Regions from separate parts of the Homo sapiens genome. Here region 2 is linked to region 1. Evidence: promoter capture Hi-C in human tissues and cell types (Jung and others, 2019). All regions are on one chromosome and are shown on one strand. Each heading gives the region's core, a stretch centred on a gene start or on the middle of the fragment in contact. The rest is flanking DNA. Distances are from core to core; before and after follow the strand shown. Region 1 holds the start of HAPLN3 (hyaluronan and proteoglycan link protein 3). Region 2 has its middle 77 kb from the start of ACAN.

The links. Contacts are between HindIII fragments. The study calls those that stand out against the background at their distance.
Region 2: a contact is called between a fragment that was not itself captured here and the fragment with the promoter of HAPLN3 in region 1, in 1 of the 25 tissues and cell types used here (mesendoderm cells).

What each region holds. Positions count from the first base shown.
Region 1 is chr15:88,889,907-88,896,998 of GRCh38, reverse strand. It overlaps HAPLN3 (hyaluronan and proteoglycan link protein 3), which reads left to right and starts at 1,455. Exons shown (of 5, transcript NM_178232.4): 1 at 1,455-1,540. RefSeq lists an enhancer at 1,618-2,229. The HindIII fragment of the contact is 23,597 bases long and covers 1-7,092 here.
Region 2 is chr15:88,723,054-88,729,841 of GRCh38, reverse strand. No RefSeq gene overlaps it. Among named protein-coding and RNA genes, the nearest start is that of ACAN, 77 kb to the left of the region's middle. The HindIII fragment of the contact is 6,960 bases long and covers 1,934-6,788 here.

The sequences.
Region 1 (7,092 bases), core at 206-2,705:
GACTTTTTTCTGCCCCACTGCAAGGCAGAGGGTGAGCGTTCAGATTCCACCTGCTGGCTACCCCTACCCCTGGCTGGCATGTTCAACTCGACTTAACTGTAGCAAAATGTGCTCTCCCTACTGTCCATCCTCTCCCCTGTCGGGAACCTGCAGAGGGACCTACCTTGGCTCCCCTTTGCCCATCAAGCCTGGCGTTCCTTTTAGGTGTAGTTTACCTGTTGATCACAGTTCTTTGTGCTCCAATGTGCCCCTGGCTGTGTGTAACACACACACATGCACACACACACACACACTCATGGGCCAACTTGAGCTGTGTTTAGGAAGAGGCTCTGAGCTCTGTGACCCTGTGACCCTTCGACCCTTCCCCCAGCCAAAGCTGAAGGACCTCCTTAGTCTTTTCTGCTGAGGAAACATCGGGCTGTCCAGGCCAGGGCCCCCATTGGTCTGGACAGGAAAGAAAACACCCTGTCCAAACAGAGGCATCCTGAGCGGCTGCCTGGATGGCTGTGCTGATTAGCAGGATTCCGAAGGGAGGCCCACCCCTGTTGGAGGACCACTCAGAAGCCTGATTGCCCCTGCAGGCTGCAGAGGTATCCCACCCTGTGTCTCCCCTCCCAGCCAGGGCCACTCATTCAAGCCCCATGTGCTGGGGATAGCACCTGCTATGTGCCTGACAGTGAGTTGGGAATCTGGCCAGTGTTTCATGATGGCCAAACTCAGGGGCATGAGGACATCAGCAACCCCTTGCTTTTTTTTTTTTTTTTTTTTTGAGACGGAGTTTTGCTCTTGTTGCCCAGGCTGGAGCACAATGGCATGATCTCAGCTCACTGCAACCTCCGCCTCCTGGGTTCAAGCAATTCTCCTGCCTCAGCCTCCCAAGTAGCTGGGATTACAGGCATGCTCCACCACGCCCAGCTAATTTTGTATTTTTAGTAGGGACAGGGTTTCACCATGTTGCCCAGGCTGGTCTTGAACTCCTGACCTCAGGTGATCCACCGGCCTCCACCTCCCAAAGTGCTGGGGTTACAAGCATGAGCCACTCACTGCACCTGGCCTCACCCCCTTGCTTTCTATTTGGAAAAGAAAGTAATACAGAAGTCTCACCCCTTCCACAATCAAAGGTGGGGAGCAGCCTTAGCCCCTAGCAGAATGCTGGACAGGGGCTTCCCCTGCTTACTCCCACTGTTTTTGGTATACCAGGCTTTCTAAGGGGATCCCCCCTCCCCAAACTCTCCTATTCCACCCCTACTCTCCTTTCCCAAGACGTGAGGGCCTCAACTCTTGCACACCCTCTTTGCGGTGGTTCCCAGCGAGTCTGGAGACCGCTCAAGCCTGCAGCAGCTCCTCCCTTCGAGCCCAGCCCTTGGGAGGGAAAGGTGCGCGTGTTCCTTTAAGGGGCTGGTCTGGCGGGAGCGCGGGGGTTTTTCTGCTGCCGCTTCCTTTCTGCCCTTTTAATTTCCCCGAAATCAGACTGCTGCCTTGGACCGGGACAGCTCGCGGCCCCCGAGAGCTCTAGCCGTCGAGGAGCTGCCTGGGGACGGTACGTGGCTTAGGGGTCGCTGGGCTTCTGGGGCTGTGTGCGGGCCGGGTTCCTCCCTTACCGCTTTGGGTGCCCTGCGGGTCCCCACACCTCCCGGGCAGGGTCCGGGGAAGGGGCAGGAGGCGTGGGCCGGGCACTGCGGAGGCCCGGGCTGAGATGGGCTGTGATCGCGGGCGAGGGGCGCCCGGGGCACAAGTGGGGAGGGAGCGGCGCGGGGATGCGGGCGCCGGACCCTCGTGCCCACCGTGAGGGAGCAGAGCCCGAGCGGACCCCGTGGCCTCCGAGACCACCGTCCGCCTCCAGCCCCCTTCCTGCCAGGGTCCGCTTGGCTCTCTCCCCTGTCGTCTGTCCAGGGTCGGCTGCCTCCAGTGCCGTCCGCGGCGCCCCAGGCCCTGCCCCTGGGTATCTGTTGGATGCTCCGGGGGCCCCGGGAGTCCTGGGAGGGGCTGAGGGCAACCTGCGAGGCGGCTGGCGGACCTGCGCCTCTGGACCGCAGCTGGCCGGCTCTGGGCGCCTGGGGCAAAGGCAACTGATGCCTATGGGTTCCAGACCTCGCTCACCGGGGTTCTTGCCCCAGGGACAGCGAGGCCAGAAGGGTAGGGAGGGTGGAGGGCAGAGCCCTGGGTGGGAGATGGCGACCCTCAGGGAGAAACGTAGGCTTGTGCGCAGCCAGTATGGAAACAGCACGGCACTTGGACCCAGTCCTGCCACCAGCTCGTTGGCAGCCACAGGCCACAGGCAGCCTGTAAACCTGTTGGGACCTTGGTGTCCAGCGCTGACCCGCGGGAGTGCCTGTGCTCCCTGGAGTAGGGGGCAGCGATTGAGAGGGGCCCTGGCTTCTCTCCCTCGACGCCGCCCGGGCCAGCGGATTGGGAAACACCTCCGGTTTTCATTCTCCTGGGGGCTGCAGGTTTCAAAGGCGGAGATCAAGCCTTGTGCAAACAGGGACAGGGATGTCAAATTTCTCGCTGGGAGCAGCGCTCGTGCAGACCTCGCGGGCGATGCTGCCTCCTGCTGGTACCTGGGGGACTTGTACTCACGGAAGGCCCAGTGCGGACATGCACCTGGCAGGGAGGTGGCACCTACCCTCCCTCCAAGCCCAGGCTTATTGTTCTTGGGTGGAGGGGTCCCTAGGCTGGGGCGCCTGGGAAAAGCAAAGGGCTGGTCATCAGGAAACCTGAACTTTCTCTAAGTTCGAGATATTTGACAAAGATAACGCCTTGGGTAGTTCACTGACCTCCACTCTCTTGGCCTCAGTTTCCTCAACTGTGAAGAGGAGGCAGTGGTGACCACTTTGTCTCGTAGGCAGTGAGAGAGGAGAAAGAGCCACTGAGATGGTGTAAGACTTCACTGTGTGAACTGCTCACCAGAGTAGTAACAGGTCATATTTTCCCAGTGCTTGCTCCTTATCAAGCATCAAGCAGTATTTTCAGTGCTCTGCAGCTATTCTCTCCCTTAATCTTCACGAGAGTGTTTTCTGTTTGGTATTGTCGTGACCGCCCCCCCCACCCCAACTTTTTTTTTTTTTTTGAGATGGAGTCTCACTCTTCTTGCCCAGACTGGAGTGCAATGGCTCAATCTCGGCTCACTGCAACCTCCGCCTCCTGGGTTCAAGCGATTCTTCTGCTTCAGCCTCCCGAGTAGCTGGGACTACAAGCGCTCATCACCACACTCGGCTAATTTTTGTATTTTTAGTAGAGATGGGGTTTCACCGTGTTGGCCAGGCTAGTCTTGAACTCTTGACCTCAGGTGATCTGCCCACCTCAGCCTCCCAAAGTGCAGGGATAACAGGCATGAGGCACTGTGCCTGGCTTGTGACCCCCATTTTAAAGATGAAGAAACTGAGGCTCAGAGAGGTGCAGCGACTTGTCCAATGACAGAGGGTTAGTAAGTGGGTGGAGCCAGAACTGAATGCAGGCAGCCAATCTGCTTCTAGAGCCTGAAATCTTTGCCATGTTCATTTGTTGAGCACCTGCTGCATGCCAGGGACCAGACATCATACATCTTCTATAATTGTCACCACAGCCCATTTTTTTTTTTTGAGCTGGAGTCTTGCTCTGTCGGCCAGTCTGGAGTGCAGTGGTGTGGTCTTGGCTCACTGCAACTTCCGCCTCCTGGGTTCAAACAATTCTCCTGCCTTAGCCACCCCAGTAGCTGGGATTACAGGCATCTGCCACCACACCCAGCTAAATTTTGTATTTTCATTAGAGATGGGGGTTTCACTGTGTTGGCCAGGCCAGTCTCGAACTCCTGACCTCAGGTGATCCACCCCCTCAGCTTCCCCAAATGCTGTAGGATTACAGGTGTGAGCCACTGCACCCGGCCTTAAGTTCCTTTTTTTTACAGATGAGGAAATGGAGGCACAGAGAGGTGAACTTGCCCGAAGTCACTCAGCAGGATGCAGTGTGTCCAGCTCCAATACCGAGCCCAGGTCTGAGTGCCCAGACAGGACTCCAGAAGATTTGGGGAACTATCCACTGCCAAGGTGACTGGGCTGGACTTGGTCTTGGGCCTTCCAGCTGGTGGCACCTCTGTGGTGGTCCTGAGGAGTTGGTGGCTGGATAGCCATGGTAGGGGAGCAGAGGCTACCCATCCCTCCCCTCAGTGGTAGTGGTCAGGGATGGTCAGAGATGGACCTGAGGCAAGGCAGCAACCAAGTGGCAATTGCCACTCCTGACTCCCACACAGGACTCTGTCCTGTGCACTGACCTTAGCATTCAAGGCTGTGCTTGTCCTCAGCCCCCGAGTTCCCCTTTAGTCTTCTCTGGAGAGAGGAAATTTTCTGTTCAGAGAGGTCAAATGACTTTCCCAGGGTCACCCAGCTAGCAGGTGGCAGAGCCAAGACCCAACCTCAATGAGTTTAACTTGAAACCTTGGGCCTGTGTGCTGCTCCTCTCTCAGAGAGGCCTGGAAAATGGCCAGCTTCCTCCTGGCCTTTTGTTCTTGGGCACAGGGCTGATCTTTTCTTATAATTCCTTTTGTTTTTCTTTTCTTTTTTTTTTGAGATGCAGTTTCACTCTGTCGCCCAGGCTGGAGTGCAAAGGTGTGATCTCGGCTCACTGCAACCTCTGCCTCCCAGGTTCAAGCAATTCTCCTGCCTCAGCCTCTGGAGTAGCTGGGATTACAGGCACCCACCACCACACCCATCTATTTTTTATATTTTTAGTAGAGACGGGGTTTTACCATGTTGGCCAAGCTGGTCTCAAACTCCTGACCTCAGGTGATCTACCCTCCTTGGCCTCCAAAGTGCTGGGATAACAGGTGTAAGCCACTGTGCCCAGCTAATTCCTTTTGATTTTCTTGGCATCCCCCTCAATGTGAGGTTACATTACTGCTGAGTTAGCATCCAACAAAGAGGTGTTACTGATGTCACTTAGTGGCAGAAACGCCTGCATTTGTTTACCCTTAGGAAGCCCTTTCTCACTAGGGAGCATTTGTGCTAGATGAGCCGCTGTAAGAGGCTGGAAACATTATAAGCAGCAGCTGGGAGCCCCTCTGCTCAAGGAGACTCTAGGTGCCCAGGGACAGCGGGGAGCCCAGGACATCAAGCTCAACATCAAATCTTGGCCCCACTTCCCTCCTGGTTCCAGGTGTGGAGCCTGAAGGAAGGCAGAGGAAACGAACTCTTACAAGGGTTTGCTCTGGGCCACTGGGCTGTGTGTGCCACACAATCACCTCCCTGAATTTGGCATGGTTCCAGGCTTTGGGGCTGGAGTGGGTTCGAATCCTAGCTCTGCCACTTCCTAGCTGGATGACCTTGGGCATATGACTTAGTCTCTCTGTGCCTTGGTTTTTCCATCTGCAAAATGGGAACACTACTAGGCTCACATGTCAGGGTAGTGGTAAGGATTACATGAGAGATACCAGGTGTGGTGGCTCATGCCTGTAATACCAGCACTTTGGGAGGCGGAGGCGGGCAGAACAATTAAGCCCAGGAGTTTGAGACCAGCCTGGGCAACATGGTGAAACCCCATCTCTACTAGAAATACAAAGAATTAGCTGGGTGTGGTGGCACACACCTGTAATCCCAGCTACTTGGGAGGCTGAGGCAGGAGATTCATTTGAACCCAGGAGGCAGAGGTTGCTATGAGCCGAGATCTTACCACTGCACTCCAGCCTGGGCGACAGAGTGAGACTTGGCCTCAAAACAAAAACAAAAATAAAATAAATGAGAGAGTAAGTGCTCAGCTGTTAATACTTTTATACTGATCATAGTAATGCTGTGGTGTGTGTATTTGTTAGGACAAGTGAGGCTAAGCTGTGTTGACAAAGAGATGCAGGCCGGGTGCAGTGGCTCACGCCTGTAATCCCAGCACTTTGGGAGGCCGAGGTGGGCAGATCACCTGAGGTCAGGAGTTCAAGACTAGCTTGGCCAACATGGCGAAACCCCGTCTCTACTAAAAAATTACAAAAATTAGCCTGGTGTGGTGGCAGGTGCCTGTAATCTCAGCTACTCAGGAGGCTGAGGCAGGAAGAATTGCTTGAATCTGGGAGCAGAAGTTGCAGTGAGCCGAGATTGCACCATTGCACTCCAGCCTGGGCGACAGAGTGAGACTTAGTCTCAAAAAAAAAAAGATGCAAAAAAGTGGTGGCTTAAATATGATAGGACTCTGTTTCTCTCTCATAGGACAGTGCAAGTGGAGGAGGTCCAGGGCTGATGGGCAGCTCTGCCATTCAATCTGTGGTTTCCATCTCTGACTCTAAGCTGGATACTGTGGTTTCCAGAAGGTTGGGGGAAGGAATACCAGGGAAAGGCATCTGTAATTGTTTTAACTGCCAGACCTGGATGTGGCATGTTATTTCTGCTTGCTGCCATTGATGAGAACTGAGTCACATAGCTCTCCTAGCTGCGAGGGAGGCTGGAAATGCAGTCTTCAGCTGAACGGTCGTGCACCCATCTAGACCTCTGTTACTTTAGGAGAAAACTAGAATGCATTGGCGAGAAATATACCAGGGTGAGTTTTATGATCTCCATTTCGCAACCGAGGAAACTTGCCCAGAATCTCGCAGTGAATAAATAGTAGAGGTGGGATTTGAACTCTGATCTTCCAGTTCCCAAACTCTGTACCAGGTTGCCCCATTGTGCTTAGGCCTCCCAGTTCTCCATCACCAAGGGGGCTTACAGGAATCAACAGGGGAATGAATTCCTCTTGGACAAGAAGTGGGGTTTCAGAGTTGGTAGTGTCCTGGCTGCAGTGCACAGCACAGATGGCAGGTCTGGGCCTTGGGATTTCTGTGGTGTCTAAGGGAATGGTGGATTTGGCCTCTCAACTTTCTTTACATCCATTCTCTCCAGCAAGAGCTCCTAACTGTTCTGGAAACAAGAATGTTTCCTCCACAATCCCATCACTCTAACAAGCCAATGCTGTGTGTGTCTGCCTGCCTCCTTTCCTCCCTCCTTCCCTTTCCTTCCTTCCTTCCTTTCCTTCCTTCCTCCCCTTCCTCCCTCCCTCCCTCCCTCCCTCCCTTCCTTCTTTCCTTCCTTCCTTTCTCCCTTCTGTCCTCCCTCCCTTCCTCTTTAAGTGTTTCCTCATCTTCTGGGTCCTGTACAC
Region 2 (6,788 bases), core at 4,164-6,663, 170 kb after region 1:
TTGGCTCTCACAGGCTCACTAGAGTTGGCCACAGCAAATGACTGTGATCCAGCCTGACAAAGGGTTAGATCAGACCAAATGAATCCTGATTCCTCAGGAGCCACTGAATTGGGGTTAGGGTGGTGTTTGGAACCTGGACCCCAGGAAAGGAGGGGCAAATAAGCTCAGACTTAGGGTTAAGGGAGCCTCTCAGTGTGAGCCAGCCACCTTCACTGCAGAAACCTGGCTCTTATTAGTGCACTCCCAGGGGACTCCACAGTCAGTCTCTGAGCTGAATGCCCCCCACCTCCCAGCAGGCTGCTCACCACTTCCAGACTGCTCACAATACCACTTTCCTAAAAGCCCATTCTGGCTTGAGACTCCAAAGGGTGTCTCCATTGTACCCGGAATCTGAACTTATCTGCTTGGACTTACTCTTCTTCTTCCTCCTCATTTCCCACGCCAGTCCATGTTCATCCTCCCCTCCAGCCAGGTTGCTCTCCTTGCTGCCCACAAATACAGCCAACTTATTCTGCCCCCCAAATTCTCACTAACATTTCCGTAGCTGCAATGACCTGCTCTTATCCCCTTTACCTAAACTCTGAGTTTATCAATTCTGGTTCAAAGCTCAAACATTCCAGCAATCCCTCCCTGCCTGCTCTAGCTCACAACTGACTTCTTTTTCTTTACTCACTGCCTCCACTGCAACCACTGCCTCTTTTATCATCTCCTTCACCACTACTAACCTCCAGTGCCATCATCTCCTTCATCACCTCCACCATCACTGTTCTTTTTTTGTTTTGTTTTTGTTTTGGTTTTGGTTTTTTGTTTGTTTGTTTGTTTGAGATGGAGTCTTGCTCTGTTGCCCAGGCTACAGTGCAATGGCCTGATTTCAGCTCACTGCAACCTCTGCCTCCCAGGTTCAAGTGATTCTCCCACCTCAGCCTCCCAAGTAGCTGGAATTACAGACAGCCGCCACCACGCCTGGCTAATTTTTGTATTTTTAGTAGAGATGGGGTTTCACCATGTTGGCCAGGCGGGTCTTGAACTCCTGACCTCAGGTGATCTGCCCACCTTGGCCTCCCAAGGTGCTGGAATGACAGGCATGAGGCACCATGCCCGGCCCCATCACTGTTTCTTTACCTTCATTACAGCCATCACTCCCGCCACCACCACGGTCGGCCCCTCCAGCTTTCCTCCATTCGTTTCATCTCCTACATCACCACCACCATGACTGGTCCACTGCTTCCACCACCACTTGCATCATTACTTCTCCTTCTTTTTTGTTTTTGAGACAGGATCTCACTCTGTTGCTGAGGCTGGAGTGTGGTGGCCTGATCATAGCTCACTGCAGCCTCCACCTTCTGGGCTCAAGCCATCCTCCTACCTCAGCCTCCCATGTAGCTGGGACTACAGGTGTGTGCCACTATGCCTGGCTAATTTTTATATTTTATGTAGAGATGGGGTTTTGCCATGTTGCCCAGGCTGGTCTCAAACTCCTGAGTTCAAGCTATCTGCCTGTCTTGGCCTTCCAAAGTGCTGGGGTTACAGGCGTGAGCTGCCGTGCCCAGCCGGCCTCGTCACTTCTACCATCACTGCTCCATGACCTTCCTTGTTACTTTCTTAATCACCATCTCCATCACTTCCAATGTTACCTCCACTGGTGAGCCCACTCTGTCTCCTTCCTCACCTCCACCTCTCCACCATGATCTTCCCTACCACATACACCATCACCACCTTCATCCTTATCACCCTACCCCATCTTTGCTACCTTTATTTCCCTGTCTTAATCTCAGCTATCAACTCCACCATCATTACCACCATGACTTGTGCCATTGTCACTATTGCTATTTATTTGTCCTCTATCCTTATCCTCCTCTTTCCCCTCATTATTATCAGATTTTCCTGTCTTCATGTCCCTGACACTGAGCATAGTAACTTTACGTCTAGTCCTTGCCTATAGGTGACATCCGTGTAAAAATGAGATAAGGCACCTGAATGAAGAAAGTAATCTCAGATACTGCACAGAGCCCATAGGTGAGAGCATTTGCAACCTTTCTCAGGCACCAAAGTGATTGGTACACCTGAGCATGGTGGGTGAAGAGAAGATAGGGCCTGGCTATAGAGTGGCTCTACAGGCTGGACAGCTCCCAGCTCTGAGTCCTGCTTCCTCATCCTTATCACAACTGGGCTCACCTGGGCTTGAGGCCAGCGCCACAGGAAGCTCTAGTGGTGCCCAGCTGGGCTGGACGAGTAGTCATTCCAGCCCAGCCCTTGGTCTGCCCTGTCTGCAAGCCTTGGTGGGAAAGCACGCTGCTCTACAGGACTCCAACCTCAAATGGTCGGGCACCTGTCCCAAACAGCCCCAGCTTCCCTTAATCATCACTCTGACTCTCCCACCCCCAAAATAATCAAAACGCTCCTTGAGCCTATTTTTGTTTGCCTCCCTACCATCTCTAGGATGGATTAATTCCAGATGTTTGCAGCTTCCTGAGTAAAGCATTGCTTCCTATTATTTCTCCAAAGGCATCCTTTTTTTTTTTTTTTTTTTTTTTTTGAGACGGAGTCTCGCTCTGTCGCCCAGGCTGGAGTACAGTGGTGCGATCTTGCAAGCTCCGCCTCCTGGGTTCACGCCATTCTCCTGCCTCAGCCTTCTAAGTAGCTGGGACTACAGACGCCCACCACTATGCCCAGCTAATTTTTTGTATTTTTAGTAGAGATGGGGTTTCACCGTGTTAGCCAGGATGGTCTCGATCTCCTGACCTTGTGATCCGCCCACCTCGGCCTCCCAAAGTGCTGGAATTACAGGCGTGAGCCACCATGCCTGGCCCCAAAGCATCCTTTTCTAAACTTCTTGGGGGTACTTTGTTTCCACCACAAGGTTCAACTGCTGAACGTTCTCCATACTCTTCATGCCATCACACTTGGCGCACCTTCTCTCTTCTTTCCCTCTAGAAAATGAATAAGACAAACATTTAAATCTATGGTCAGTGTAAATCCCTCTATGCTTTGCTAGGTGTAATTGCTCTTTCCCAAACCTCCCTTTGTGTAGCAATGTCTTTCTCATGGTGAATGGGACATAAGTCATGACAACATGAAAACCATGCCATCAGTTATGCCTTCAGAGTAGGATTCAAAGAAGAGTATGGCATGAAAGTCTCCTTTAGATCTGTCATCTGCCTTCTGCTCTGGCCTCTCTCTTGGTACCCTGCTTCCCTCCCCCATGCCCCCTGCCATCTGCTAAGCCCTCAACTAAGTTTTCAAGGCACTGTTCTCTGTACCTTTGGACATGGGGCTTCCACCACCTGGAATGTCCTTCCTTTTCATCTGGTTCTAGACCCAGCTGAGGTCCCTAGAAACCTTCCCTGAGGCTCCCAATGCCCCCGTATCCCCTCATTCAGAGCATTTCACCCACTTGCCTGTCACTGTCCGTTTAGGATTCCCCATCAGGCTACATCATTTCCCCGCTGCCCTCACCCTCCTCTGTGATCTTCACAGTGGAGGGACTGTGGCATCATTGCTGACTTGAAATAGCTTGTATTATTGGTTTGGGATGTCTTGTGTAAAAAGTTCCTGGAATCATGTTTTTTACCTATAAACCATGTCAAGAAGGGCCATTAAAGAAAAGGCATAAGGGTGGGAGAATTCAGTGCTTCTACGAGAGGAACTTCTGTTTCAGAATACACACAGAAGAAAAATGTTGGGAATTTGGACGACCAGGTGGTGGTGGAGGTACACTGGGGTGGCCCTGCCCAGCAATGCTTACAGCAGGGCCAGGCTTAACTCCCTGGCTGAGCTGGAGGCTACCAGCTACCTCTCAGCTGGGGCCCCTTGGTTCCTGTGCTTGCTTGGACCCACTTCCCAATTTTGAAAAGATACCTTTTCTTTTACGATGACTTGTAGTTTCATCAGCTGAGCCACACAGGTTCATTTTTTAGCAGCCACTTCTTTGGAGCCATAGCTCACATCTTTCCTGGACTTTCAATATGGGATTTTAAAATAGTCTTGTGGCTTCCTGTGAACTGTTTACTTGTAAAACAGGAACACATTATATTAATTTCTATTTTTTCCGAACAGTATTTTTCTATAGTTCCTCTTACTAAAAATGACAGATTTTTTTTTTTTTTTTTTGGTTCTTCCCCTATCACCAGGAGGTAAAGTTTAGTGAAGTTGTGGTGTGTTGAGGTGGGAGGTTTGTCCAAATATCTCCTGTGGAAGACCCAGGTCACTACACAGGACCAAGTTTCATGTGTGTCCCTTCCCTGTGGGTTCTAAACCACAGTGCCTGCACTGGGCCTTGCTTGTTTATCTTCTTGTCAAACAGCCCTTCCATTCTGTGTTTGAATGTGGTTCTTGCTGCTTTCATATTGGGCATGCAGTGTCATGCACGACCAATGTGGGTAGACATGGAGCTGCCTGTCCAGAACCCCATCAGCACAGTCCTTCCCTGGCAGTATTTGTGGGAGGAGAAGAGCTGCAGCATGGTTGAGCAGTGGGCAGCTAAAGATCCAGTTCTCTGGAAGCAGAATTGGCTCCACTGTGGTTTGGGACCAGCGAGCTACAGCCAGTGTGCAAGGGTCTCACTGAATAGTAGGTGCCCACTTGGGACCCTAAATAGGGAGATGTTCCCCTCAGAGACCTTGCTCTCCCTGGCTTCTCTGGTAGATCCCTTGTCCTTTCCAACAGGGCACATCCACTCTGTTTACACATGCAAGAGGTAATTGCAGAGCACCGTTAGTAGACCATTGCTCTCACACTCAAATGTAACTTGAGAAGACTTACTTAGGTAGCTTGGACCAGGACCTCCCACCTTCACCTCCAGGTTAATCAGATAAGCAGTGCCCTTCCAGGGACCACCTGCTTTTGTTTCACTTTTATCTGTCTCCATCCTGAACTGAGGCGGGTAGCCCTCTGCGTGGCCCTTTCGGTGCCCTTCTCCTTTCAAATCTATGGCTGAACTCTTCTTAGAAGATTACAGGCTGGGTGCAGTGGCTCACATCTGCAATCACAGCACTTTGGGAGGCCAAGGTGGGTGGATCACTTGAGGTCAGGAGTTCGAGACCAGCCTGCCCAACGTGGTGAAACCCTGTCTCTACTAAAAATACAAAAATTAGCTGGGCATGGTGATGGGTGCCTGTGGTCCCAGCTACTTTGGAGGCTGAGGCAGGAGAGTCCTTGAACCCAGGAGGCGGTGGTTGCAGTGAGCCAAGATTGCACCACTGGACTCCAGCCTGGGTGACAGAGTGAGACTCTGTCTCAAAAAAAAAAAGAAAAAAGAAGAAGATTACGTTATTATTTTATCTGGACTAAAGTATGCTGAGTATTATGAATAAAGCTTCTATAGACATATTTGTGCATGTCTCTTTGGTGAATATTTGGACTCCTTTCTGTTGGCTCTGTACCCAGAGGTGGAATTTCTGGGTCATACAGTGCTGTTTACCTTTAGTAGACCCGACCAAACATTTTTCCAAAGTGCTTGAACCAATTTACCCTCCCACCAACCATAGATGAGAGTTCCAGTTGCTCCGAGCCCTTGTCAGTCTTTGATTTCACTTTTTCTGGTGGGTTTGTAGTAATGTCTCATTATGGCTTCAGTTTGCACTGATGAATGATATATATATATTTTTTTCTGAGACGGAGTCTCACTCTGTCCCCCAGGCTGGAGTGCAGTGGCGCAATCTGCTCACTGCAAGCTCTGCCTCCTGGGTTCATGTCATTCTCCTGCCTCAGCCTTACAAGTAGTTGGGACTACAGGCGCCTGCCACCATGCCCGACTAATTTTTGTACTTTTAGTAGAGACAGGGTTTCACCGTGTTAGCCAAGATGGTCTCGATCTCCTGACCTCATGATCCGCCCACCTCAGCCTCCCAAACTGCTGGGATTACAGGCGTGAGCCACCGCACCTGGCCCGATACTGGGTATTTTTTTTTTTTTACAAGTTTAATAGACATTTGGATAGCGTTTGTTAATATTCAAATCTTTTGCCTATTTTTTTGTTATTTCTTTTTATTGACTTGTGGAGTTTCAAAAATAAATATTTTTAACAGGACTACTTTGTCAGTTATATATATGTATTACAAACATCTCCCAGTCTTTGGCTTATCTATTCATTTTCTTAGTGATGTCTTTGGATAAAGGACATTAATAAAGTTCTTTTTTTTTCTTTAGTGATTAATGCGTTTATGCCCTGTTTATAAATTCTTGCTCTCCCCAAGGTCATGAAGACTTTTTTTATGTTTTCTTATGGAAGACTGACTGTTTTACCCTCCCAACTTAAGGCCTATAATCCATTTTGAATTAATTTTTGCATGAAGTATAAGTTAGGGGTAAAAGTTAATTTTTTCCAAATAGATATCCAATTGCTCTAGTATCATTTATTGCAAGACAATTTTCCCTCATGAATAGCAATGGAACGTTTGTTGAAAAACATAGCAGCTTTATTCATAATAGCCCCAAACTGAAAACAACCCAATGTCCCTGAATGGATAAACAAATTGTGGCACATCCGCATAATGGAATACTTCTCAGCAATCAGAAGAACGAATTATTCTTGAATGAAGAATGAATAGATTATTGATGCACAACAATACGAAAGAATCTCAAAAACATTATGTTGAAGAAAGGTTGACAGAGATAAAAGAATGCATACTCGTTGGTCCATTTATATGAGGAAAAACTAATGTGTGTTGATAAAAGTCAGAACAGGCCAGGCAGGTGGCTCATGCCTGTAATCCCATCACTTTGGGAGGCTGAGGAGGGCAGATCACAAAGTCAGGAGTTCGAGACCAGCCTGGCCAATATGGTGAAAC